6 separate regions of the Homo sapiens genome follow, and all the other regions are linked to region 1. The links are contacts of gene promoters, found by promoter capture Hi-C in blood cells and fetal thymus (Javierre and others, 2016). All regions are on one chromosome and are shown on one strand. Each heading gives the region's core, a stretch centred on a gene start or on the middle of the fragment in contact. The rest is flanking DNA. Distances are from core to core; before and after follow the strand shown.

The links. Contacts are between HindIII fragments. The CHiCAGO score rates a contact against its expected background, and 5 or more counts as called.
Region 2: a contact is called between a fragment that was not itself captured here and the fragment with the promoter of SLC25A17 in region 1, in 1 of 17 cell types (M2 macrophages). The highest score is 7.8, in M2 macrophages.
Region 3: the fragment with the promoter of CHADL here is called in contact with the fragment with the promoter of SLC25A17 in region 1 in 5 of 17 cell types (neutrophils, monocytes, M1 macrophages and 2 more); the score reaches 12.4 in neutrophils.
Region 4: a fragment that was not itself captured here is called in contact with the fragment with the promoter of SLC25A17 in region 1 in 5 of 17 cell types (M2 macrophages, M0 macrophages, M1 macrophages and 2 more); the score reaches 16.3 in M2 macrophages.
Region 5: a contact is called between a fragment that was not itself captured here and the fragment with the promoter of SLC25A17 in region 1, in 5 of 17 cell types (M2 macrophages, M0 macrophages, M1 macrophages and 2 more). The highest score is 13.1, in M2 macrophages.
Region 6: a fragment that was not itself captured here is called in contact with the fragment with the promoter of SLC25A17 in region 1 in 1 of 17 cell types (naive B cells); the score reaches 5.4 in naive B cells.

What each region holds. Positions count from the first base shown.
Region 1 is chr22:40,817,867-40,822,515 of GRCh38, forward strand. SLC25A17 (solute carrier family 25 member 17) reads right to left here and starts at 1,480. Exons shown (of 9, transcript NM_006358.4): 1 at 1,329-1,480. The coding sequence starts at 1,382. The HindIII fragment of the contact is 13,078 bases long and covers 1-4,649 here.
Region 2 is chr22:41,124,431-41,128,983 of GRCh38, forward strand. It overlaps EP300 (EP300 lysine acetyltransferase), which reads left to right. Exons shown (of 31, transcript NM_001429.4): 3 at 1,434-1,610; 4 at 3,057-3,318. Among named protein-coding and RNA genes, the nearest start is that of EP300, 34 kb to the left of the region's middle. The HindIII fragment of the contact is 7,598 bases long and covers 1-4,553 here.
Region 3 is chr22:41,239,338-41,243,967 of GRCh38, forward strand. It overlaps CHADL (chondroadherin like), which reads right to left and starts at 1,594. Exons shown (of 6, transcript NM_138481.2): 1 at 1,537-1,594; 2 at 106-283. The coding sequence starts at 1,544. RefSeq lists enhancers at 1,197-1,697, 1,698-2,198. The HindIII fragment of the contact is 52,914 bases long and covers 1-4,630 here.
Region 4 is chr22:41,154,990-41,157,489 of GRCh38, forward strand. It overlaps EP300 (EP300 lysine acetyltransferase), which reads left to right. Exons shown (of 31, transcript NM_001429.4): 17 at 6-124; 18 at 2,180-2,419. Among named protein-coding and RNA genes, the nearest start is that of EP300-AS1, 41 kb to the right of the region's middle. The HindIII fragment of the contact is 4,528 bases long and covers 1-2,500 here.
Region 5 is chr22:41,171,253-41,175,759 of GRCh38, forward strand. EP300 (EP300 lysine acetyltransferase) reads left to right here. Exons shown (of 31, transcript NM_001429.4): 28 at 1,247-1,411; 29 at 2,371-2,532. Among named protein-coding and RNA genes, the nearest start is that of EP300-AS1, 24 kb to the right of the region's middle. The HindIII fragment of the contact is 346 bases long and covers 1,153-1,498 here.
Region 6 is chr22:40,434,190-40,438,649 of GRCh38, forward strand. It overlaps MRTFA (myocardin related transcription factor A), which reads right to left. Exons shown (of 15, transcript NM_020831.6): 5 at 1,310-1,365. Among named protein-coding and RNA genes, the nearest start is that of SGSM3, 66 kb to the left of the region's middle. RefSeq lists enhancers at 2,102-2,161, 2,422-2,551, 2,672-2,721, 2,792-2,841. The HindIII fragment of the contact is 881 bases long and covers 1,915-2,795 here.

The sequences.
Region 1 (4,649 bases), core at 230-2,729:
GCCCATCTTAAAGCAAGTCACGCAAGCGTCCATCTCAGCCTTCATGCTGGCTGAAAGGCTCTTCTGGCTGAACTGAATGAACCAGGCTTCCTGAATTAGGCATTTTCATGAAATGCTGTGTCACTTAATTCTCTAAACTCTGTGAGGTAGGTATCACTTCCCCCACTTTACAGATTAAGAAAGTAAGGTTTACAGGGCATCTAGCTAACAAATGATGGAGTTAGGGTTAAATCCAGATTAGTCTACAGAGAAGGTGAGCTCTCAGTGAAGTTTCTGGAGGCTAAACAGAGGATTCAGTGATGTTCCTCTGAAGTCACAGTGATTTTAACAGCTAAAGGTGTGTGCTAACAACTGGTGAAGAATATGAGAAAAGGCAGTCAAAGAGATAAAAGAACCACAAGAGGAGTCACCCAAGCCAAAAGTGGAAAGTTTTAAGGAAAAGAGGGGAGAGGGGAAGTGTCAAGTGGAACCTAGACACCAGAAGCCCAAGAATCAAGCGTATACCTCATAACAAACCACACTTGTGGTAGACAGGAACCCAGATCTTGATTTAGAAAGAAAGAAAAAAAAGCCAGGCACAGTGGCTCATGCCAGCAGTTTAGGACGCCAAATCGAGAGGATCGTTTGAGGCCAGGAATTCGAGACCAGCCTGGGCAACACTGCCAGACCCCAAAAATTTTTTTTAAAAATGTAGCCGGGTGTGGTGGCTCACACCTGCAGTCCCAGCTACTCAGGAAGCTGAGGTGGGCGGATCGCTGGAGCCCGGGAGATCGAGGCTGCAGTGAGTCGTGATCGCGCCACTGCACTCCAGCTTGGGCAACAGAGCAAGACCCTGTCCGGAAAAAAAAAAAAAAAAAAAAGGATCTATCTTCTCCTGCCAATAACGGTGCCCAGAGCTATCCTACTAGGTATTGCCACTTGCCCGCGGCAAGCGTGAAGACAGGCTGTAGGGAAGCATGTGACTAAGCAACACGGCTTCACACCTACGTTCTCCTCCGGGCCAGTAAAGCAAAGTGTGTGAGTGTGCGGTGGTAGCCTGACCTTAAACTTCCCACGGCAAAGATGCGGACCCTGAGCGGGCACGTGTGAACACGGCTCTCTACCCCGCAGTCTCTAGGAGACCAGGAGGTGGCGGAGTCTCGGCCCTTACCCCGAATTCCTCCAACAACTTTCCGCCAATGGCCCATTCCTCTCTGCCCCACAGTCATGACAGTGGACCCCAACCCACACTACCTCCCTCTCAGACCCATCCCTCAGGCATATCCCGGGACTGGCCCCCGAGAAGCCTTATAACCCGTTGCGGCCCGGGCGTAAAGACCCCGTCTCACCACGGCTCCGGCCACGGCGTGGACCAGGCTTTCGTAGGACAGCACGGAAGCCATTGGTGCGGCTCCTCGAAGACCCAGCCACACTTTTCCCACAGATGCCGCAGCCAGTGGAGTTAGGAAAGGAGCACCGGAGCTCAGGGTGTGAGAGTCGCAATCCCCGCCCTCTCAAACCCGCCCGCCTGCCCTAGAACCACTTCCGGGTCGCGGGGCGGGAAAGCGGGGGGGGGGGGGCGGCTAAGAACGCCCCTGAACGCTGATTGGCCCCTGTGGGCGCGGGGCGGGACAGCGAGGTGTTCGCGGGGCTGGGCTCCAAGGCGCAAGGCGGCCTGACACCAGGTACCCGGCTCCCGGTTCCTCCGACGTTCTCTGGCGTTCCCGGGCCCTGACCAGTTCCTCCATCTCAGAAGTCTTAATGGCCTTCTTTTACTCTGGTGACAAAGATGGGGAAACTCAATGAGACTCCAGTCTCCCTGTTTCTCTGCGCCTGAGCTCTTTTCTATTCTGAAAGTCACATTTTGGCCAAGAGGAAAAAAACTCACTTGTGGACTTGGAAACTTCTTCCTCCAGAAAAACCCTTGAGTGTGGTGGGAAGAGATGTTGAGCATCAGGAGCCCAAAATACAAGACGCGAGTGGGAGCCTCCCCCTAGTTGGCAACTATGGAAGTCATTTAACCTCTTGGGTTTCCTCTGTGAAATGACAATGTACTAGTACCAACAATCCCCATCTGCTGTGAGGATTACGAAAGCCAATTTATGTAGTAGTACTTCATAAAATACTGAAGGAAAAAAATTTTTTTCCATGTTGCAAAGTGACTAACAAAATTACACAAAACTAAAGCAGCCACATTCAGCTTTAACCTGTCATACTGTGAGATTCTGCTTCAGGATGCTCCTCAGGGACTCAGGGATTCTTTCCTGAGACACCATCACCACTTGTCTTTACCATGTTTCCTTTTAGAATATCCTCGTGATAACTCCTCAGTGCTGACTACATGCCAGGCTTAGTGTTTTATGCCCATCATCACACTTAATCCCTGGGAGAGGGGTCTAACAAAGTTTAACCTGGCCGTTTTCACAAAATTTGCAGAAGATACTGCTTCCAGGAACATTCCCATCACGCCATAGAATCATGACGTGAAAGTGAAGGACCAAAAGTGAAGCGAAGATGATTTTGGGCTGGGCGCAGCGGCTCAGGCCTGTAATCCTAGCACTTTGGGAGGCCGTAGCGGGCAGATCACTTGAGGTCAGAAGTTTGAGACAAGCCTGGCCCATATGGCAAAACCCTGTCTCTATTAAAAATAGAAAAAATTAGCCGGACATGGTGGCACGCGCCTTGTAGAAATTACAATGTTGAAACTGCAGCTACTAGGGAGGCTGAGGCAGGAGAATCGCTTGAACCCAGGAAGCAAAGGTTGCAGTGAGCCAAGATTGCACCACTGCACTCTAGCCTGGGACAGAGTGAGACTCCTAAAAAAAAAAAAAAAAAGATTATTTTGGCATGGGAACATAGAAACTAGTTGGCTGTAAAACTTGAGAACTCAGTTCTCATTGACTCCTGATCAAATTGGGAGCTTGCTGTCAAGAATATACTGGATTATGCATCATAGTTATGAAAACATTGTTAATACTTTGTTTTGACGTTTTTGTATCTTACATACCAAAAACATTTTGATCAGCTTTTTTTTTTTTTTAAACCTGAGACAGTGTTTCTCTGCGTTGTCCAGGCTGGTCTTGTACTCCTGGGCTCAAGTGATCCACCTGCTTCAGCCACCCAAAGTGCTCGTATTACAGGCATGAGCCACTGTACCGGGCCTTGCAACCTTTTTTTTTTTTTTCAGATGGAGTTTCACTCTTGTGGCCCAGGCTTGGCTCACTGCAACCTCCGCCTCCCGGGTTCAAGTGATTCTCCTACCTCAGCCTCTCGAGTAGCTGGGATTACAGGCATGCGCTACCACGCCCAGCTAATTTTTGTATTTTTAGTAGAGACGGGGTTTCATCATGTTGGTCAGGATGGTCTCAAATCTCTTGACCTCGTGGTCCGCCCGCCTCGGCCTCCCAAAGTGCTGGGATTACAGGTGTGAGCCACAGCGCCCAGCATGATCAACTGAAGACTGACATACTGAAAACAGTATTTTTTTTTTTTTTTTTGAGACGGAGTATCGCTCTGTCACCTAGGCTGGAGTGCAGTGACGCGATCTTGACTCATGTTAGCCTCCATCTCCCGGGTTCAAGTGATTCTCCTGCCTCAGCCTCCCGAGTAGCTGGGACTACAGGTGCACGCCCCCATACCTGGCTCATTTTTGTATTTTTAGTGGAGACAGGGTTTCACCATGTTGGCCAGGCTGGTCTCGAACTCCTGACCTCAGGTGATCCACACACCTCGGCCTCCCAAAGTGCTCAAATTAGAGGTGTGAGCACTGCACCCAGCCAAAGTCATTTTCATATAATCAGTATGCACTGAAAAACGTAGACACTGCATAGCTACATCAGTTATTAACTGGAACTATGAAGCTGTGATGTTCGAGACACACACATACATACATATATATATACACGTATATATATATATATACGTATATATATATACGTATATATACGTATATATATATATATATATATATACACACATATACGTATATATATATATATATTTTTTTTTTTTTGAGACAGTTTTGCTCTTGTCGCCCAGGCTGGAGTGCAATGGCGCAACTTCAGCTCACTGCAACCTCTGCCTCCCAGGTTCAAGCAATTCTCCTTCCTCAGCCTCCCGAGTAGCTAGGACTATAGGCATGCACCACCACGCCTGGCTAATTTTTGTACTTTTTAGGGACAGGGTTTCACCATGTTGACCAGGCTGGTCTCGAACTCCTGACCTCACCCCCCCCCCCACCCCCTGGCCTCCCAAAGTGTTGGGATTACAGGCGTGAGCCACCGTGCCCGGTTGAGACATAATTTTTAAAAATTATAACTTAGTTGAGCACAGGGGGTCATGCCTGTAATCCCTGCACTTTGGGAGGCTGAGGCAGGAGGATTATTTGAAACCAGGAGTTCCAGACCAGCCTGGACAACAAAGTAAGACCTCATTGCTGTTAAAAACAAACAGATGGGCATGGTGGTGCATGCCTGCAGTCCCATCTACTTGGGAGGCTGAGGTGGGAGGATTGCTTGAGCCCAGGTCAAGGCTGTAGTGAGCTGCAATTGCATCACTGCACTCCAGTGTGGGCAACAGAGAAAGATTCTGTTTCAAAAAACCTAAGGATTGTAATTTTTGGCTGCTTTTTTCGTTCTAAACAAGTATCTACTTGTGTGTCCAATTTAGTG
Region 2 (4,553 bases), core at 1,406-3,905, 310 kb after region 1:
CCCTACACAAAAAAGGACATATTCCCAAACCATCAGTTTTCTACTTTTTATACAAACAAAATACAGGAATAATTATTCAAATGAGGCCAAGCATGGTGGTTCACGCCTATAATCGCAGCACTTTGGGAAGCTGTGGTGGGAGGATTGCTAGAGCCCGGGAATTTGAGACCAGCCTGGGCAACATGGCAAGACCCTGTCTCTATTTTTTAATAGTCAAAAAAAAGAAGAAGAAGAAAACATTCAAATGCTTGAACATGACAAAGGGGTTAGATGGCTTATTAAGTTGAATTCGCCATGTAGCATCATGTGTGACGTAATGGAAATGAATGGCAAACCTTGTTTAACAGAATTAAATGAAGATGATTAAAAGTATTTCTAAAACATCTTTATTTCAAATATTTATGAAAATAACTCTGTACATTTACCATACCCAAGGCCCCTAAATCTTAATTTTGATCTTAATCTTGAAAATGTATTGTTGTTAGCATACTTTGTATAGTGGGTTTTTTTTGTTTGTTTGTTTTTGAGACAGGGTCTCACTCTGTTGCCGAGGCTGGAGTGCAGTGGCCTGATCATGGCTTACTTGCAGCCTCAACCTCCCAGGCTCAGGTGATCCTCCTACCTCAGCCTCCTGAGTAGCTGGGACCACAGGCACATGCCACCACATCCAGCTTTTCTTTCCTTTTTTTTTTTTTTTTTTTTTTTTGAGATGGAGTCTCACTCTGTCGCCCAGGCTGGAGTGCAGCGGCGTGATCTCGGCTCACTGCAAGCTCCGCCTCCCGGGTTCACTCCATTCTCCTGCCTCAGCCTCCCGACTAGCTGGGACTACAGGCGCCCGCCACCACACCCGGCTAATTTTTTGTATTTTTAGTAGAGACGGGGTTTCACCATGTTAGCCAGGATAGTCTCTATCTCCTGACCTCATGATCCTCCCGCTTCGGCCTCCCAAAGTGCTGAGATTACAGGTGTGAGCCACTGCGCCCGGCTGTTTTTTGGGGTTTTTTTTTTGTATTTTGGTACCGATGGGTTTTCACCATGTTCCCCAGGCTGTTGTCAAACTCCTGACCTCAAGAAACCCTCCTGCCTTGGCCTCGCAAAGTGGTGGGATTACAGGTATGAGTCGCCAGGCCCGGCCACTTGGTTTTTTGCCATCATGGCTCCCTACAACCTCTACCTCCCAGGCTTCACTGATAATCCCACTTTAGCCTTCCAATTAGCTGGGACTATAGGCTTGCGCCACCATGTCCAGATTTTTGTATTTTTTAGTAGAGATGGGGTTTTGTCACGTTGCCCAAGCTGTAGTGTCTTTTCTAATAGAAGCTGAGAATTTCCTTTGAAACTGTCTTTGTGAACTTGGAAGTGAAATCAGAAAAGGAATAATAATGTCTTAAATTTTATTGCTTATTTTGTTTTCTTTTGTTTCTTACTCTTAGATGGGAATGATGAACAACCCCAATCCTTATGGTTCACCATATACTCAGAATCCTGGACAGCAGATTGGAGCCAGTGGCCTTGGTCTCCAGATTCAGACAAAAACTGTACTATCAAATAACTTATCTCCATTTGCTATGGACAAAAAGGCAGTTCCTGGTGGAGGAATGCCCAACATGGTGAGTACTAATCCATTACAGACTTGTTTTCAAACTGGCATTTTGACAAAAGAATTGTGTTAAACTTTCACCCTTCTGTTATATATGCTGGGATTTGTACCCACTAGGAGCCTAAATTGATATGTACTTGATGATCCCTGTGAGGAGGCTTGTGCTTCCTTTCCATTTCTCTGTTTTTTTTGTTCCATGTGGTTATTGATCAGTGAGCATGTTGATCCAAACAGGAGTAAGTGAACTGCTACAATGAAGTTTTAGGGGCCTGCCATTCAGCAACTTGGTCTTGTGAGCGTTTCCATACGATACGAAAGCGGAACCTTTCACTTTTGGGGGAAGGAATCTCTGGCAAAGGATCCGAACTCTCAGTGACCATATTTACCAATATTATTTGATTCTACTACACCCAAGTAAATTCCCTCTCAAAAGTAATGTATTGTTTTAAACAGCAATTTTTGTTAAATAAAATTTTCAGGAACTTCTAGTGTTATTTTTGTACAGTCAAACTACTAGTAGTAAATGTGTCTGCATTCAACTTTGGAAAAACATTGTCTGAAAAAATCCTCTTTCAGATGTTTTAGTTTTGTCCTTTGTGTCATTATGTTTATGGACTGCCTATATTTGAGATACTCTGCCAAGTACTGGAGTTATACAGATGAATGAAACATGTCATCTCTGTCCCGAGAAATGTTCACTTTTTTTTTTTTTTTTTTTTTTTTTTTTTTTTGAGACGGAGTTTAGCTCTTGTTGCCCAGGCTGGAGTGCAGTGGTACGATCTCGGCTCACTGCAACTTCTCCCTCCTGGTTTCAAGCAACTCTCCTGCCTCAGCCTTCTGAGTAGCTGGGATTACAGGCATGTGCCATCATGCCCGGCTAACTTTGTATTTTTAGTAGAGACAGGGTTTCTCCATGTTGGTCAGGCTGATCTCGAACTCCCGACCTCAGGTGATCCGCCTGCCTCGGCCTCCCAACGTGCTAGGGTTACAGGCGTGAGCCACCGCGCCCGGCCTGAAATCTTCACTTTTTAATTTAAAAAACTAAATTTATCCCAGAGTTTAGAAAAACTAGTTTTTCACCAACCCGAAAGACCCCTCTGCTGAGTCTCTTGAGGAGTTCTTCATTGCTCTTTAAAACCTAATTTGGGTGTGCTTTTAACTACAGACACCCTCTCACCCTTCCCTCTCCCGCTGGAGTTTACCATGTCCTTCTCTCTGCTTTTGCTCTCTGTGTATTATACATACTTATATCACTTCGTAATGTCATTTTTTTTCTTATTAAATTGAGCTTCTTAAAGGTAGGAGCCATGGTTTATGCATTCCCTGTGTCAAAAAATGGAGTCTGGCTTATAGTAGACTAACCATAAAGGTTTTCATTGAAAATATCCACATCTCTATTTATTAAGAAATAGCACATTATGACTCCTACCATTAAATATATTGTTATATCTCTCAGGGTCAACAGCCAGCCCCGCAGGTCCAGCAGCCAGGCCTGGTGACTCCAGTTGCCCAAGGGATGGGTTCTGGAGCACATACAGCTGATCCAGAGAAGCGCAAGCTCATCCAGCAGCAGCTTGTTCTCCTTTTGCATGCTCACAAGTGCCAGCGCCGGGAACAGGCCAATGGGGAAGTGAGGCAGTGCAACCTTCCCCACTGTCGCACAATGAAGAATGTCCTAAACCACATGACACACTGCCAGTCAGGCAAGTCTTGCCAAGGTAAGTGGACCCACAGGGTTACTGTACTTAGCAATTTTTACAGCCAGGGAGAAGAAGGAAAATGTGATCAAGTCTATTTTGTGGTGATGGATATGTTTAATACCTTAATTGTGGTGATGGTGTCTGTATGTACAAAGTCACCAAAATGTATACATTAGACCAGGTGTGGTGTCTCACACTTACAATCCCAGCACTTTGGTAGGCCAAATGGGGAGGATTGCTTGAGGCCAGGAGTTTGAGACCAGCCTGGACAACATAGCAAGACCTCGCCGGGCATGATGATGCACCTGTAGTCCTAGCTGAGGGACTAAGAAGGCTGAGGAAGGAGGATTGCTTGAGCCCAGGAAGTCAAGGCTGCAGGGGGCTATGATTGCGCCACTGTACTCCAGCCTGGGTGACAATGTGAGACCATGTCTTTAAAAAAGGTTGGGCGCAGTGGCTCATGCCTGTCATCCCAGCACTTTGGGAGACTGAGGTGGGCAGATCACTTGAGGTCAGGAGTTCAAGACCAGCCTGGGCAATATGGTGAAACCTCGTCTCTACAAAAAAATACTAAAGAAAATCAGCCAGATGTCTGGGTGTGTTCCTGTAGTCCCAGCTACTTGGGAGATTGAGGTGGGAGGATGGCTTGAGCCCAAGAGGGCAGGGGTTGGTGTGATTCGACATCATACCACTGCACTCCAGCCTGGACGATAGAACCAAACCCTGTTTCAAAAAAAAAACAGTGTACATATGTGTAATTTTTTAAAATTATTTTATTTTATTTATTTGTTTTTTGAGACAGAGTCTCGCTCTGTTTCCCAGGCTGGAGTGTGGTGGCACAATCTCGGCTCACTGCAAACTCCACCTTCCAGGTTCATGCCATTCTCCCGCCTCAGCCTCCCAAGTAACTGGGACTACAGGCAGGCGCCTACCACCATGCCCGGCTAATTTTTTGTATTTTTAGTGGAGACGGGGTTTTACCGTGTTGGCCAGGATCGTCTCAATCTCCTGACCTTGTGGTCCACCCGCCTTGGCCTCCCAAAGTGTTAGGATTACAGGCGTGAGCCACCACGCTTGGCCAATATGTGCAATTTAAAAAATATTTATACCCCAAAGCATTTAGAAAATTCCATTGTCTAAATGCATCATCACAGTTAACTCACTCGGTAAAGGTCGTCTTGGCTGCGTCCATTCTGTGGCAATTACGAATAAAGCTGCCATAAACAAAATCAATTTTGAGACTCCTTTACTGA
Region 3 (4,630 bases), core at 344-2,843, 420 kb after region 1:
CCGGGCAGGCGGTGGCAGATCAACTGGTGCCCAGCCCAGGCTCCTCCCTCTGGGTCCCCACCTTGCCCCACTGCCACTCTGTGCCTGTGCTCCTGCCCTGCTGACCTCAGGGATGGCGTCTGGCACCTCAGTGAGGTTCTGGTACCGGCAGGCAACGTGTCGCCTGGAGTTGTCACAGATGCAGGCCTGTGGGCAGCGCTGGGCGGCGGCCTGCCTAGCCGGGGCCAGCAGCAGAAGTACAAGAAGCGGCAGCACCAAGGGGACATGGGTGGAGCTCCGGGGCCTGGGACGGGGAGGGAGAGTCTGTTGTGCACAAGGGCCGAGGCCACATGCTGTCCCTCACTTAGTCCCAGCCATGGTGCAGCTCCTGCCCCAAAAACCCCTCAGAGCCTCCTCCTTTGGGCCCAGGAAAGTGCCAATCACCCTGAGCCTCCCTGCCCCCCACCCCCCACGCAGTGGAGGTCCTATGATTAGTCCTGTTTTACATGGGAGGAAACCGAGGCTCAGAAAAGTGACCTGGTTAGTCCCTTTGCCTCTGCCCAATGGCTCAGTGAGGACTTGCTGACTGTGAGAATGACTCCAGTTCAGAGCATGTTCTCAGGCTGTGGTGAGGCTCTGGTCCAGGGTAGGCTCGGAAGCAGCCTGTCCTCAGACTGATATGATGCCAGCTCCCAGGTGGCAGGAGCATAATGGTACCCCCCAGAAAGGAGGGAGGCATCCAGTCCGGGTCCTTGAGTCTTTTTTTGTTTGTTTGTTTAAATAGAGACAAGCCTTGCTCTGTTGCCCAGGCTGGAGTCTGGAGTGCAGTGGAATGACTATGGCTTACTGCAGCCTTCACCTCCTGGGCTAAAGTGATCCTCTCACCTCAGCCTCTTGAGTAGCTGGGACTACAGGCACACACCACCACGCCTGGCTAATTTTTTAATTACTTCTGGTAGAGACAGGGTCTCGCTATGTTGCCCGGGCTGGTCTTGAACTCCTGGCCTCAAGTGATTGTCCCACCTTGGCCTCCCAAAGCGCTAGGATGATAGATCACCTCCCCTGCCCAGCTGGCCCCTCTGTTCTCAGCCTGTGTCAGGCATGGCCTCTCCCCCATCGCTGGGCTGTTCCCCGGCCCCCAGGAGCCTCCCCCTCGCTGCTCACTGGACTATCGTCTGTTTTGGAGTCTCCTTTGGGTCCCAGGCTCCAGCCCCTGCGTTGGAGTTGGTGGCTTCTCCAGAGCCTGTGGTGAAGGCTGTGCCTCAGGGCAGGCCAGGGAGGGGACCCATGGGGACAGATCGCTGAAGCGACAAGCATTCATAATGCAGGGACCACTGCTGGGCTCTCAGACAAGCCCCAGAGGACCAGTTCCTGGCAGTGGCCACATTGCCACGTGTCTCAGAGCCCACCTTGGGAGACCCCCTTCCTGGAGAACCCCAGGAAGTCCCCAGAGCCCCTGCCCGCCAGCCTCTGAGAGGCCCAGAGGGGGCAGAGACTTACCTGAGGCCACTGAGCTGCTCTGAATCCCCCCTTGCACCATCGGGCCCAAAGACTCACCCCTCCATGCCGCCTGGAACTGCTGGTCCAGCCTGGAGGCGCAGCGCAGGGACAGGCTGTCCCCGCCTGGCAGGAGCCCCCCTCCACGGCCCGCAGGCCTGGCAGCTGGGACAGGGCTGAATGGGAGGCATTGTCGGCAGACCAGGCAAGCCAGGCTTCCCCAGGCTGAGGTGAAGAAGGGGCGGGCGGCGGGCGGGAGCAGCGGCTGGAGTTACAGGGCCTCCTGCCTGCCCCAGCCGAGGACTGAGGCCCCGGCCTGAATCCTTGGGCCAGCCCGACAGGGAGGGGGCACCAGCAGCTGGCCCGGGAGTCAGCAGTCCTGGGCTCCCTCCTGCCATGTGGGCTGCCCTCCCAGAGGCTGCTTCCTAGTCTCTGAAAAACACATCCCATTAATAAGTAGCTCTGAGGTCACAGTGGGGGTTCAGGCCCGCACCTGGCACACAGTGGGTGCTTCAGAACAGGTGACCCTTTCCTTCCGTTTGTGCTTACACATTGACATAAATAGTTTAATACTGGACACACAGGATTCTAGACACTCATTTTTTTCACTTAACCTCAGATTACTGGGAGTTATCCAAATTGACTCTTCCGAATCTCATTATTCTGTGGTATATAGTATTCCATTGTGTAAATGTATCACATTGACTTAGCCATTCATCTTGGACATTGGCTACCTCCAATTTTTTGCTATTTACAAACAATATTGCAAAGAATATCCAAATACGCATCTTCCCAAGCTCGTGTTTGTTTTTTAAATAATACATCCAGACCATGGCCAATGTTCATGTATCTTGATTTTTCAGATTCCTGCTTCTGATGGAATTGCATCTTCTACTGTTTGTTCCTTTAATTGGAAACAGGGGTCAGGCACAGTGGCTCATGCCTGTAATCCCAGCACTTTGGGAGGCTGAGGTGGGAGGATCACTTGAGCCCAGGAGTTTGAGACCAGCCTGGGCAACACAGACTCTGTCTCAAGAGAAAAAAAAAAGGCCGGGCGCGGTGGCTCACGCCTGTAATCCCAGCACTTTGGGAGGCGGAGGCGGGTGGATCACGAGGTCGAGATCAAGACCATCCTGGCTAACACAGTGAAACCCTATCTCTACTAAAAGTACAAAAAATTAGCCGGGTGTGGTGGCAGGCGCCTGTAGTCCCAGCTACTTGGGAGGCTGAGGCAGGCAAATGGCATGAACGCGAGAGCCGAGATGGCGCCACTGCACTCTAGCCTGGGCAACAGAGTGAAACTGTCTCAAAAAAGAAAAAAAATATATACATATATATATATATATATATATATATATATATATATATATATATATATATGTATGTGTGTGTGTATACACTTATGTGTGTATATATTTATATATAATAAAAATATAAATGTATATGTTTATATATATTTATATATGTTAAACAATGAACATCTGTGTGTACTTTTCCTAGACTGCAGGAGTTTTTTGTTTTTTGAGACAGAGTCTCACTTTATCGCCCAGGCTGGAGCTCACTGCAACCTCCACCTCCCTGGTTCATGCGATTCTCCTGCCTCAGCTTCCCAAGTAGCTGGGATGACAGATGTGTACCACCACATCTGGTTAATTTTTGCATTTTTAGTAGAGACGGGGTTTCGCCATGTTGGCCAGGCCGGTCCCGAACTCCTGACCTCAAGTGATCTGCCCGCCTTGATCTCCCAAAGTGCTGGGATTACAGGCATGAGTCACCACGCCCAGCCCTGCAGTAACATTTTAAAAAAAGAAATAGTGCCATGCCACACAGCCATCTGCTTTGTGCTTTTTTTGCTTGGCAAATTCCAATCAATGGAACTTCAGTGTGCTCTTTCGTCCTTTTTTTGAGACAGGGTCTCACTGTTGCCCAGGTGTGAGTGAAGTGTGATCATGGCTCACTGCGGCCTTGACATACCAGCCTCCCAAGCAGCTGGGACCTCCAGATATGCACCGCCACCTCCAGCTGGTTTTAAAATTTGTTGTAGAGTTGGGGTCTTGCTATGTTGTCCAGGCTGGTCTTGAACTCCGGGGCACAAGTGATCCTCCCACCTCGGCCTCCCAAAGCGTTAGGATTACAGGCATGAGCCACTGCACCTGGCTGTGTCTGGCGTTTTCCACTCAATATTATGTTAGTGAGAATCATCTTTTTATTTTTTTTTTGAGACGGAGTCTAGCTCTCGTTGCCCAGGCTAGAGTACAGTGGCGTGATCTCAGCTCACTGCAACCTCCGCCTCCCAGGTTCAAGGAATTCTGCTTCAGCTTCCCGAGTAGCTGGGATTACAGGCACCCGCCACCACACCCAGCTAATTTTTGTATTTTTAGTAGAGACGGGTCTCACCATATTGGCCAGGCAGGTCACAAACTCCTGACCTCAAGTGATCCGCCCGCCTCAACCTCCCAAAGTCCTAGGATTTACAGGTGTGAGCCCGCACCCGGCTTCATCTATTTTAATTTTTTTTTTAAATTCAGCATTCCAGCCTTCCATTCTATAAATATATGACAACAGTGGCATGGGGCAGGGGCGGGAGGCAGTCTGCCCACAATGCAGGCAGTAAGCGGGTGTGCTGTCAGTGGAGAAGTGAGACACAATGGAACTGACTTAAAGTTGGTCTCTGCTTTTTATTATCATGTGCTGACAAGTCTAAACAATGTCAATGCTAAAATATTTCTTCTTGGGCAGACCATTCCTACCTTCTCGGTACCACACCGTACCACAAGTAGCTTACCCATTCCTCTAGTGATAGACATTTGGGTTGTTTCCAGCATGGGTTTATTAGAAAGAGCACTGTAGCCGGGCATGGTGGTTCATGCCTGTTAAGTGAGCTGAGGCGGGAGGATCACTTGAGCCCAATAATTCAAGACCAGCCTGGACAACACAATGAGACCCTGTCTTTACAAAAAAAAGCTGAACGTGGTGGCTTGTGACATGGTCCCAGCTACTTGGGAGGCTGAGGCACGAAGACTAAGTGAGCCCAGGAGGTCGAGGCTGCAGTGAGCTGTGATCACACCACTGCACCCCAGCCTGGGTGACATGGCAAGACCCTGTCTCAAAAAAAAAAAAAAAAAAAAAAAAGGTTGTACCAATTTACACATCT
Region 4 (2,500 bases), core at 1-2,500, 340 kb after region 1:
TTAAGTTTTCAAACCAGAAGAACTACGACAGGCACTGATGCCAACTTTGGAGGCACTTTACCGTCAGGATCCAGAATCCCTTCCCTTTCGTCAACCTGTGGACCCTCAGCTTTTAGGAATCCCTGTAAGTATTTGGTGGTACTTTTGATTTTATTTTTTAATTTGATAACAGCTTTATTGAGAGATAATTCACATTCCAAACAGTATAGCCACTCATTTCAAATTTGTAATTCAGTGATTTTTTTTTTTTCCCCCTGAGACAGGGTCTTATTCTGGTTGCCTAGGCTGGAGTGCAGTGGCACGATCGTGGCTCACTACTGTCTCCACCTCCCGGGCTCAGGTGATTCTCCCACCTCAGCATCCTGAGTAGCTGGGATAACTACATTCATGTGCCACCTCACCTGGCTAGTTTTTTGTATTTTTTAGTAGAGACGGGGTTTCGCCATGTTGCCCAGGCTGGTCTTGAACGCCTGGACTCAAGCAATAGGCCCATCTCAGCCTCCCAGAGTGCTGGAATTACAGGTGTGAGCCACTGGGCCTGGCCTAATTCAGGGAGTTTTAGTATATTCACAGAGTTGTGCATGACACTTTCATTTTCATCATCTGAAAAAAATCCTTTACCATTAACAGTCACTCACTATTTTCTCCCATAGCACCCCAATCCTAGACATCACCAGACTGCATTCTGTCTCTGGATTTGTCTGTTCTACATGTTTCATTAAATTGGAACATACAGTATGTGATTCTTTGTGCCAGGACGTTCCTTAGCATAATGTTTTCAAGGTTCATCCATGTTGTAGCATGAATCAGTAGCACATACCTATTTATAGCCCAATAATATTCCATTATTTTTCTTTACCTGTTGATGAGTTGATAGACATTTAGGTTGTTTACACGTTTTGACTATTAAGATAGGACTGTAGTGAACATTGTGTGGATTTAAGTTTTTATTTCTCCTTGGTATTTACCTAGGAGTGGAATTCCTGGGTTATATAGTTTGTTTACTTTTTTGTTGTTGTTATTTGTTTTTTGTTTTTTTGAGATGGAGTTTCACTCTTGTTGCCCAGGCTAGAGTGCAATGGCGCAATCTCAGTTCACCTCAACCTCCCCCTCCCGGGTTCAAGCAGTTCTCCTACCTCTCAGCCTCCCGAGTAGCTGGGATTACAGGCATGTGCCACCATGCCCGGCTAATTTTGTATTTTTAGTAGAGATGGGGTTTCTGTATGTTGGTCAGGCTGGTCTCAAACTCCCAACCTCAGATGATCCACCCACCTCGGCCTCCCAGAATGCCCAGATTACAGGCGTGAGCCACCGCACCCGGCCACTTTCGTTGTTTCAAGAGCAATAGGTCATAGCAGAAAAAAGGACCGTGGTTAGCTTTGTTTTTAAAGTTGCCTCCATATACTAGGCTGCTGGCAGATTTCATTTGGTGGTTTTAAACTGTTACTTGGCCGGGCACGGTGGCTAACGCCTGTAATCCCAACACTTTTGGAGGCCAAGGCAGGCAGATCACTTGAGTTCAGGAGTTGGAGACCAGCCTCACCAACATGGTGAAACCCCATCTCTACTAAAAATATAAAAAGTAACTGGGCGTGGTGGTGCACGCCTGTAATCCTGGCTACTTGGGAGGCTGAGGCAGGTGAATAGTTTGAACGACCCTGGGAGGCAGAGGTTGCACTGAGCCAAGATTGCACCACTGCACTCCAGCCTGGGCAACATGTTGACAGAGACTCCATCTCAAAGGTCAAGTGCTTCCAGGGGCAAAAGCCTTTTAGGACTTTTCCTCTCTTGTATCTTGCTGTGATTTCAGATGGAACATTTTAAGTTCTGTGGGCTTAGTTTCCTCATTGTACACCCCTTCTAGTACTAAAATTTTAAATGTCTTTGACTTTACTGATCTCACATGTACTTTCATAAAGAACCTGAAGTTGCTTCAGTAGAATATCAGCCTGATGTCTAGAAAGTCCATAGTAGTTCTGTTTCTCTGCCCTTTGAGTAGTTTAATATCTCTGTAAACTAATATTTAAAGAAGTGATGGACATCAGTCACCTCTTGGGGAATATAGACAGGCCAGAAACTAAAACACTGCCTGGAAAATTAACAATGATAATGGATGATACTCCATCTCCCGTAAAAATAGTGAGACTTGAGTAATGTTTGATGTCACTTGTCTTTCTAGGATTACTTTGATATTGTGAAGAGCCCCATGGATCTTTCTACCATTAAGAGGAAGTTAGACACTGGACAGTATCAGGAGCCCTGGCAGTATGTCGATGATATTTGGCTTATGTTCAATAATGCCTGGTTATATAACCGGAAAACATCACGGGTATACAAATACTGCTCCAAGCTCTCTGAGGTCTTTGAACAAGAAATTGACCCAGTGATGCAAAGCCTTGGATACTGTTGTGGCAGAAAGGTAAGAAATGTGTTTCAGATTTGACTTTAACTTTTCTGGGATACCTAGAATAATATAGTGGTGACTGGGATAAGAGAATAT
Region 5 (4,507 bases), core at 76-2,575, 350 kb after region 1:
ATGAGCCACTGTGCCCGGCCTTAAAATATATCTTTTTGTTTTGGTTTTTTGTTGGTTTGGTTTGGGTTGGTTAGGGTTTTAGGGGTGTGGGTGTTTTGTTTTCAGAAAGGGTCACTCTCTGTCACCCAGGCTAGGGTGCAGTGGCATGATACCCGCTCATTGCAACCTGTGCCTCCCAGGCTCAAGCCATCCTCCCATCTCAGCTTCCTGAGTTGCTGGGACTAGGTGCACACTACGAGAGCTAGCTGATTTTTGTATATTTTTTGTAGAGACAGGATGTCACCATGTTGCCCAGGCTGGTCTCAAACTCCTGAGCTCAAGTGATCTGCCCACCTCAGCCTCCCAAAGTGCTAGGATTATAGGCATGAGCCACATCACCCAGCCAAAAATATATTCTCCCTTTTTTTTTTTTGGACGGAGTTTCAGGCTGGAGTGCAATGGTGCAGTCTCCTGGGTTCAAGTGATGGTCCTACCTCAGCCTCCCGAGTAGCTGGGATTACAGGCATGCACCACCAAGCCAGGCTAATTTTTTCTATTTTTAGTAGAGACGGGGTTTCTCCACATTGGTCAGGCTGGTCTCGAACTCCTGACCTCAGGTGATCCACCTGCCTCGGCCTCCCAAAGTGCTGGGATTACAGGTGTGAGTCACTGCACCTGGCCAAAAATATATTCTTAATTAACAGTATTATGTTATTCATAAATATAGGTTGTCTCATGATACAGACTTGTCTTCCTCAATTTAGTAGTTCAACTAAATAAAGAAGTTTTCCTAAGCAGCCCAGCAAATCATTCTGCAGCAGATACTATTTCCAGTATTTGTAGTTTTGGTCATTTTGAACAAAGCTGTCAGTAAAAGCTGCTGAAATTCCAAGGATGGGTGTGAGGAGGGCATGCTTCATACCACATATTCTGTGATAAGGAGTGGTAGGGGCCATGGCATGCATGATGGTGCTACCACCCTGACGTTGATCCTGGCAGGATAATTGCCACTTGGTTATATAAAGGCAGATAAGCTCCCTGTTTTTGTGGGTAGAAGAAATAGAAAACCGGAAATATTGACTTTAGGCCAGGCCTTTTCACTATTTATTTTTCTAAATACTCCCTGGCTTACGGCTTAGGTATAAAGTCTCTGCCAGCTTTCAAGACATTTTAAGCTTTCATGTTTCTTGTCAGCCATGATTATTCTGTATAATCAATGCTTTAAAAGAACATAGAAATTCCTATATGTACATGCATGTTTTCACAGGATATTTTTAAACAAGCTACTGAAGATAGATTAACAAGTGCAAAGGAATTGCCTTATTTCGAGGGTGATTTCTGGCCCAATGTTCTGGAAGAAAGCATTAAGGAACTGGAACAGGAGGAAGAAGAGAGAAAACGAGAGGAAAACACCAGCAATGAAAGCACAGATGTAAGGGCATTGAGTTTCCTTTGAAACTTCTATCATGATTCTAATATTTAATCCAGAAGTGCACTTAAACTTTCAATTGGGTTTTAAAGCTTTCAGGTGTAAAAGAGCTCTTTAAGTTGGACAAGAAATATTGGCTTAGAGAGGTTATTAGGGTTCTGTTTCAGTGGTATTAAACTTTTAAAGCATCAGAGCCCCTTTTAAAATGGCATCTCAGACTTTGAGTAATGTGAAATGATAAAAGAAACTGAAGGAAATCCTGAAAAACTGATAGAAGATTACTTATCTGAAGGACTAGGTTATGAATATTATAGGCCTTGTGGGTCACATATCTCTGGCATATTTTCTGTCTTTTAAAAACACACTCTTTTTAAATGTAAAAAACCATTCTTAGCTATACAAAATAGGCCTGAGCCAGAATTTAAGTTACTAAGCCTGGCTTAGTAACCTCACCAGTTATTTCCCCATAGCATATCTCGAATTACCTCCATTGAATTTAACTTAACAAAAGGCACCCTTAAATAGTCTGTTAACAAACTCTTACAGCCTTGTCATTTAGTATTTGTAGGCTCATAACATTTTAGAATATGAGTGGAAGGAAATAAAACCAAGGTCTTCTGGCTCCCCACTTTGATACACTCTTCACTACCCCAAAGTGCCACCCCTTCCTTGTTCCCTAGCCCCAATCTGGGATACATTCAATCAATCTACAGGGTCTGCACATTCTGTGGCCTCTTCTAGGCAAAAAGCTAAAGGGCTGCCATTGCCTTAAAGATCACTGGGAGAAAATTAGGTCAAATAACAACTTTAAGGAGAAAGAATAAGTGAAGAGAACAGCTAGTAAAATAAGTTACAGGCATAAGATTATGATATCTAGTTTCAAAGAAGGGAGATATTCTGTGCTATTCCCAAATTACTTAACAAAAACCTTATTTTCTTGTCTCCTTTGTGCTACTCTGCAGGTGACCAAGGGAGACAGCAAAAATGCTAAAAAGAAGAATAATAAGAAAACCAGCAAAAATAAGAGCAGCCTGAGTAGGGGCAACAAGAAGAAACCCGGGATGCCCAATGTATCTAACGACCTCTCACAGAAACTATATGCCACCATGGAGAAGCATAAAGAGGTAAGATGCAGCCACCCAGAGTTGGGGAAAAACGGCAAGATTTCTGGCCAGGCATGGTGGCTCACACCTGTAATCCCAGCACTTTGGGAGGCCAAGGCGGGTGGATCACCTGAGGTCAGGAGTTCAAGACCAGCCTGACCAACACGGTGAAACCTTGCTCTACTAAAAATACAAAATTAGCTGGGCATGGTGGCACATGCCTGTAATCCCAGCTACTCAGGAGGCTGAGGCAGGAGAATTGCTTGAACCTGAGAAGCGGAGATTGCAGTGAGCCGAGGTCACTCCATTGCACTCCAGCCTGGGCAACAAGAGCGAAACTCCACCTCAGAAAAAGAAATAAGAAATGAATAAAAACACTGACTGTTCGCTGGGCGTGGTGGCTCATGCCTGTAATCCCAGCACTTTGGAGGTTGAGGCAGGCGGATCACTTGAGGTCAGGAGTTGGAGACCAGCCTGGCCAACATGGCGAACCGAAACCCCGTCTCTACTAAAAATACAAAAATTAGCCTGGCGTGGTGGCACACACCTGTAATCCTTGGGATGCTGGGGTGGGAGGATCACTTGAACCTGGGAGGCAGAGGTTGCAGTGCACTTACAGCCTGGGTGACAGAACGAGACTCTGTTTCAAAAAATAAAAAGATTTAACCTTTCTGAAAGTGAATTAGTAAATAGAATTGGAGAAAAGTTAAACTTCCACATATGGACTTACAACCCCCTTCTCAAAACTTTTTGAGTTATTTCATCATTTACATTGTTTAGTTGTTCTTGCAGTCATTTGGGAAAATAACTGGGTAAGGTTTTTTTTTTCTCTCTTTAATATCATATAATTGATAACGAAAGCCAGGAGAATTGAAGAGTAATTCCTCTCAGGGTTTGTCCAATGGTAGTAATCTCGATTGTTCAGTCAGACTCCTCATTTTACTATCTCGGTTCTCAGACATATAATCAAGTTCTTATAGGAAGTGGTAATTAAGTTGAGAGGGAAATGAAGGCTTGATTTCAGGTTGTAATTCCGTACCTAAAAATTGGTTAAACAGTCTCTTTGGGAGAGAAATAGTTAACAAAATCTTTTTTAGAGAGGAATTTGTTATAATGATGTTATCATGGTGAACACCTATATACATAGGTGTTCAAAGTATCTTTTCCCCCACTGCTCCCCCCATCACCACCCCTTTTTTGTTAGCCTAGAATAATGGGCTACGATGTAATAATGGTAATAACCATTATCTCAGCCATGCTAGTGAAATGGAAGGATTCCTGAGTTCTAATACGTTAGGTAATGATTATTAACAATTAATAGTTACTAGCTATTTCAAGCAGTAAGTAATGCCACAGAATCCTAGGCAGTTGGGAAAAGCCCTTAGAATATATTGTAATAGGTTTGACTTAAATTGTGGACACATTCCATGGCTGTTTAAATTTAGGTTGTAAATCCAAGTATTGGCCTGGTTGTAGGGTGACAGAAGCAGCGAACATTGCTGGCCAGAGACTGTGAGTGTGGCTGCCAGTGTGCACAGATGTTGAATAATCTGTTATCAGTACAGCAGTTTCTCACAAGTTCCTAATTTCTTAAGGGGATGTTTTACATTTTATTACTTTAATAGGTGTTTATAGTTATATACTAATTAATGTCAAATACATATGTAATACCAGCTTTTTATACCTTTTACACTAATGGTTATGAGAATTGATGGTTGTTACAAGTTTTTTCAAACTTCAATGAACAAGAATTTTATTGCTTTGTCAACAAAGACTAAGATTTTTTATCCATTCCATTCCCTTCCAAACCTGTAGGAAAAGTTACACAGGAAAGTTGCATAGGGGACCTTCATGAGTCCAGGCCAGTTGTTTTTCATACTGTCTCCATATTTGGATTTGTCTGGTTTGTTGTAATTAGATTGAGGTTAAACCATGGATTGCATCTTAAAGTAGACTGCCTTGAGGCAAAATGTCCACTGTGCATGGTGCTATACCT
Region 6 (4,460 bases), core at 1,105-3,604, 380 kb before region 1:
AGTCTTCTGACCGAATAGGCGCACAGGCAACGCCATCCTTTCCCCCAACACTGTACTCTCCAGTGCTCTCAGCAAACTAAACCACTGCTGCTTGTTACTCCTTTGGTTCCCAGGACCCATGACCTCATTCTTTCCACTTACTCTAAGAATTAATCATGATTTTCTGGGGAGAGGGGAATGAAAGAAAGTTTAAAAAAAAAAAAAAAAAGTCTTGGAGGTAAATATTTCTGAGACTCTAAAATAGCTGTGAGGCTGGGTGTGGTGGCTCATGCCTGTAATCCCAGGACTTTGGAAGGGCAAGGCAGGCAGATCACTTGAGGCCAAGAGTTTGAGACCAGGCTGGCCAACATGGTGAAACCCCATCTCTACTAAAAATACAAAAATTACCCAGGCGTGGTGGCGGGAGCCTGTAGGTCCAGTTACTTGGGAGGCTGAGGCAGGAGAATCGCTTGAATCTGGTAGGCGGAGGCTGCGGTGAACTGAGATCACGCCACTGCACTCCAGCCTGGGTGACAGAGTGAGACTCCGTCTCAAAAAATAAAGTAAAATAAAATAGCCGTGGGTCTTAAGGAGATGCAGCCCATGATCTGTCTAGGGGGATTATCTTCCCATGATTTTATGTGAAAGGAAAAAGTAAAGGGAGTGTGAGGGGGAAGCAAGTTCTGGTGACTTCCCCATCTCTACCCACACTGGGCAGCAGAATATTCCTCAGGGGCCCCTGGGGAACCGAAACAGAGTTGGGATGGGGACGCAAGTAAGGTGCTGTGGCAGAAAACTTGGGCTTGGAGTGTGGGCCAGTTTCTGCTTTCCACAAGAGTCAAGTGGATACCACCTACTCTGGGCAGATGGAGACCAAGAAGGTTTCCTGCCCCTTGGAATGCCCGTCCTGTGAGGTGTGGCCAGTGTAACCCCGGACTTGGGAAGCTTTTCCATTGGCTAATGTTTGTGTCCCAACATCTACAAAACGTTAAGTGGAATTAAAGATGGGGAAATACCAGTGGTCTCCAAAGCACTCCAAAATTCAGGCAAGGAGGATCGGGTGATCATTCCATATCCTTAAATGTACAAAAAGAGAAACCTCATTCCAATCATGTTCCATATAATCACCATGGGAGGTAAATGAGAGAAGGGATGAAGTAGGAGAAGCAGAGCTTTCCATTTAAAACCACAAGGCCAGGGCTGGCCCTAGAGTCTAGCAGGCTCTGGCCTCAGAGTTCTATGGAAAGCTCTAAATGGAAATATAACCAGCAATGCAATGAGCTCTGAAAATGCTCTTTGGGAGTTCTGAGGGGGAAAAAAGGTACCTTACCCTGGCCCGCTCCAAGCTCCTTCTCTGCTCATGAAATGCGGCTGGACTTTTCAAAGCTGTTGAGAGAAGAACCGTAAAGATTACCTTCAAGCGAAGCATCATGTCTAGTGCTACGATATTCAGTGGAGAAGGCATCTTAAATTCATGTTACTGGCTGGGCGTGGTGGCTCACGCCTGTAATCCCAACACTTTGGGAGGCTGAGGCAGGCAGATCACGAGGTCAGGAGATCGAGACCATCCTGGCTAACATGGTGAAACCCTGTCTCTACTAAAAATACAAAAAATTAGCCAGGCGTGGTGGTGGTGGGCGCCTGAAGTCCCAGCTACAAGGGAGGCTGAGGCAGGAGAATGGCGTGAACCTGGGAGGCAGAGCTTGCAGTAAGCCGAGATTGCGCCACTGCACTCTAGCCTGGGCAACAGAGCGAGAAACCGTCCCCCAAAAAAAAAAAAAAAAAATCACATTACTGTTAGTAGTACTATAAATATCAGTTGAAGTGAAGGCAATGACACCTGAGTAAGCATGTATCTTTATGGTTTAGCTACCCCATTCAAACAGTTTTGGTAGAAACCAAAATATGACTCCTAATGGGAACTGTCACTGCCTAAGCTTGGGCTATATAAAGTGCACCCATGGAATGTAACTTTAACAAACACCCTGGCCCATGACTGGACCGTCAGCCGCAAATCCCCCTTCAGCTAGGACTCCAAGAACGCCTGCTAGGCCTCACATTATTCTCAGGACACCTGCACACAGGAAGGGGCACAGATGCATGCCAAATTAACCTTACTTCCTCAACCTCACGAGGAATCATAAAGTGGCCAAACTGTTTCAATGGGACAGTTAAAACCAAAAAGATATATGTCCACTCGGCACTATTTCCTTCTTCACTGCACCTGTTATTTATAGTGCTGCTAAAATTAACTTGAATTTCATCTCTAAGGACTAAAAGAACCCCATGGCAATTGTATGTGAAGGAACACACACAACCGACAGCTGAGACGAAGGGCTCAGCTCTATTCTGGGGATACCACACAAAGACCACAAGTCTCGACTTCTGCAAACAACACTCAGGTGGCAAGACCAAACCAAGAGCCTCCAGAAAGGCTGCACCATGAATGGAAGGTCTGACTCCTTTTGTCAAAAACTTGGCTGTAAGGACAAATAGCAACTTAAGACACTCTGAGGATGAGAGGGAAAGGCCTGACTCACTTCAAGTAGGGAACAGAGGCAATAAGAGAGAAATTTATAAGACTGTGGTCAGTTTCACTTCTCCTGCCCTAGAATTTCCAAAGAGCTGTGAAACTGCGAGCAGAGATAACTTTTGCTAGGCTGCTGGCTGCGGTAGGAGTGCAGGGTTAAGGAGCTGCTAAAAGTAGCAAGAGAGCATAGATAGGACCCTATCCTGCCTGGGCCGTTGTGCTTCTTCCTCCTTCCTCTCCACCCCCAGCGGGGGGCTGGGCCTCAGCAACAGCAGTCCCAGAAGAAAGCTTCAATTGTCCCAGTGGTATTTATTTTTAAAAATTTTTTGTGAATCTTAAGATAAAAAAGAAACTACAGTCTTAAAAGTACTACTGAGATCCCATCTTCTAACAGAAGGGGGAGCTCTAGATTTAACAAATAACATCAAAGAAAAACCAGTACAAGTTACCTCCCCAACCTACCTGGGCACTATCCAGGATTCCCCACTTCTTACATGGGCAGGTCGTGGGCATTTCAGTGGGTAAATAGACACCCCCTGCACCTGCTTCTACTGTGTAACGCTAGCTCAACTCCAAACGTCCTGCTCTGCAGGAACCCGGGTGTGATGCATCACACGTAACCTTGGCTCTTGGAAAGCTTAGCACATGCATGAGACAGTAAGTACAAAGAATCAAGAGAAAACGGACACTGTCCACCCCACCCCAGCTTCCTTTTCTGCCTCATTTTTCTCCGCAGCACTCATCACTGTCTTGACAGTCTTTATATAAATACTACGTATCTGGCTGGGCATGGTGGCTCACGCCTGCAATCCCAGCACTTTGGGAAGCCGAGGTGGGCAGATCATGAGGTAAGGAGTTCGAGACGAGCCTGGCCAACATGGTGAAACCCCGTCTCTACTAAAAATACAAACATTTTTGTACAGGCATGGTAGAGGGTGCCTGTAATCCCAGCTACTCAGGAGACTGAGGCAGGAGAATCACTTGAACTCAGGAGGCAGAGGTTGCAGTGCGCCAAGATAGTGCCACTGCACTCCAGCCTGGGAGACAGAGCAAGACTCCGTCTCAAAAAAAAAAAAAAAAGGCGGAATACTACATACTTTTCTTGTTTACTCTCAGTCTCCCACGTTTACATTTACAACATGTCCCCATCAGAGCACAGCAAGGGTTTTGTCTATTTTTTTAGTCACTCACAGCATTCCCCAAGTGCCTAGAATACCAGGCACACAGTATACCCTCAATAATTATTCACTCGATGAATTAGTGAGTATTCTGTAAGAAACGGACACAAGGTGACTAGTGACAGGAGGACAGGAGGATTCTGCGGCAGAGCTCTAAACTTTCATCTAAACAGCCAGAATTCTGGTTCTCAACCGGGTTCGAAACCTCACAGAAGTTCTGGATAGACAGTCAAGGGATCTGTGTTCTAGTACTGAGTGCTACCAATTACTGCTGGGTGACATGGGTTTTGACTGCTTTCTGGGTCTAATTTTCTTCCAGAGTGAGAATCTGCCCACCTCTCAGAACCCTTGTAAGGAAGAAACACCAGTGAGAGTGCCCTGAACCAAATGGTATATGTGTCGATATATTCAGGTGTTGCTGTCACCAAATGCTGTAATTTGGTTGAATCACTGGCTTGATTCACTTACAGGCCAGCTAGTTTCTGTACCACAGCCAGAGATTCTCTGTCTAAAACCCTGGCTGACTTGCTGCCTCAACAACCCACACTGGCTATCCCCAAAGGGTAAGGCACAAACCCAAAGGCACAAACCCAACTTCTAGAAGAACAATTCACCAGAACATCTTGAGGACATCATCTTCATGTACAAAGGGTGGTGCACCACTAGTGGAGGACAGGTGATAGGTGAAATGGCTACAGCATACATAGTCCCCCTCATCTGCAGTTTCGCTTTCCATGGTTTCAGTTATTCTAGGCCAACCAAGGTCCAAAAAT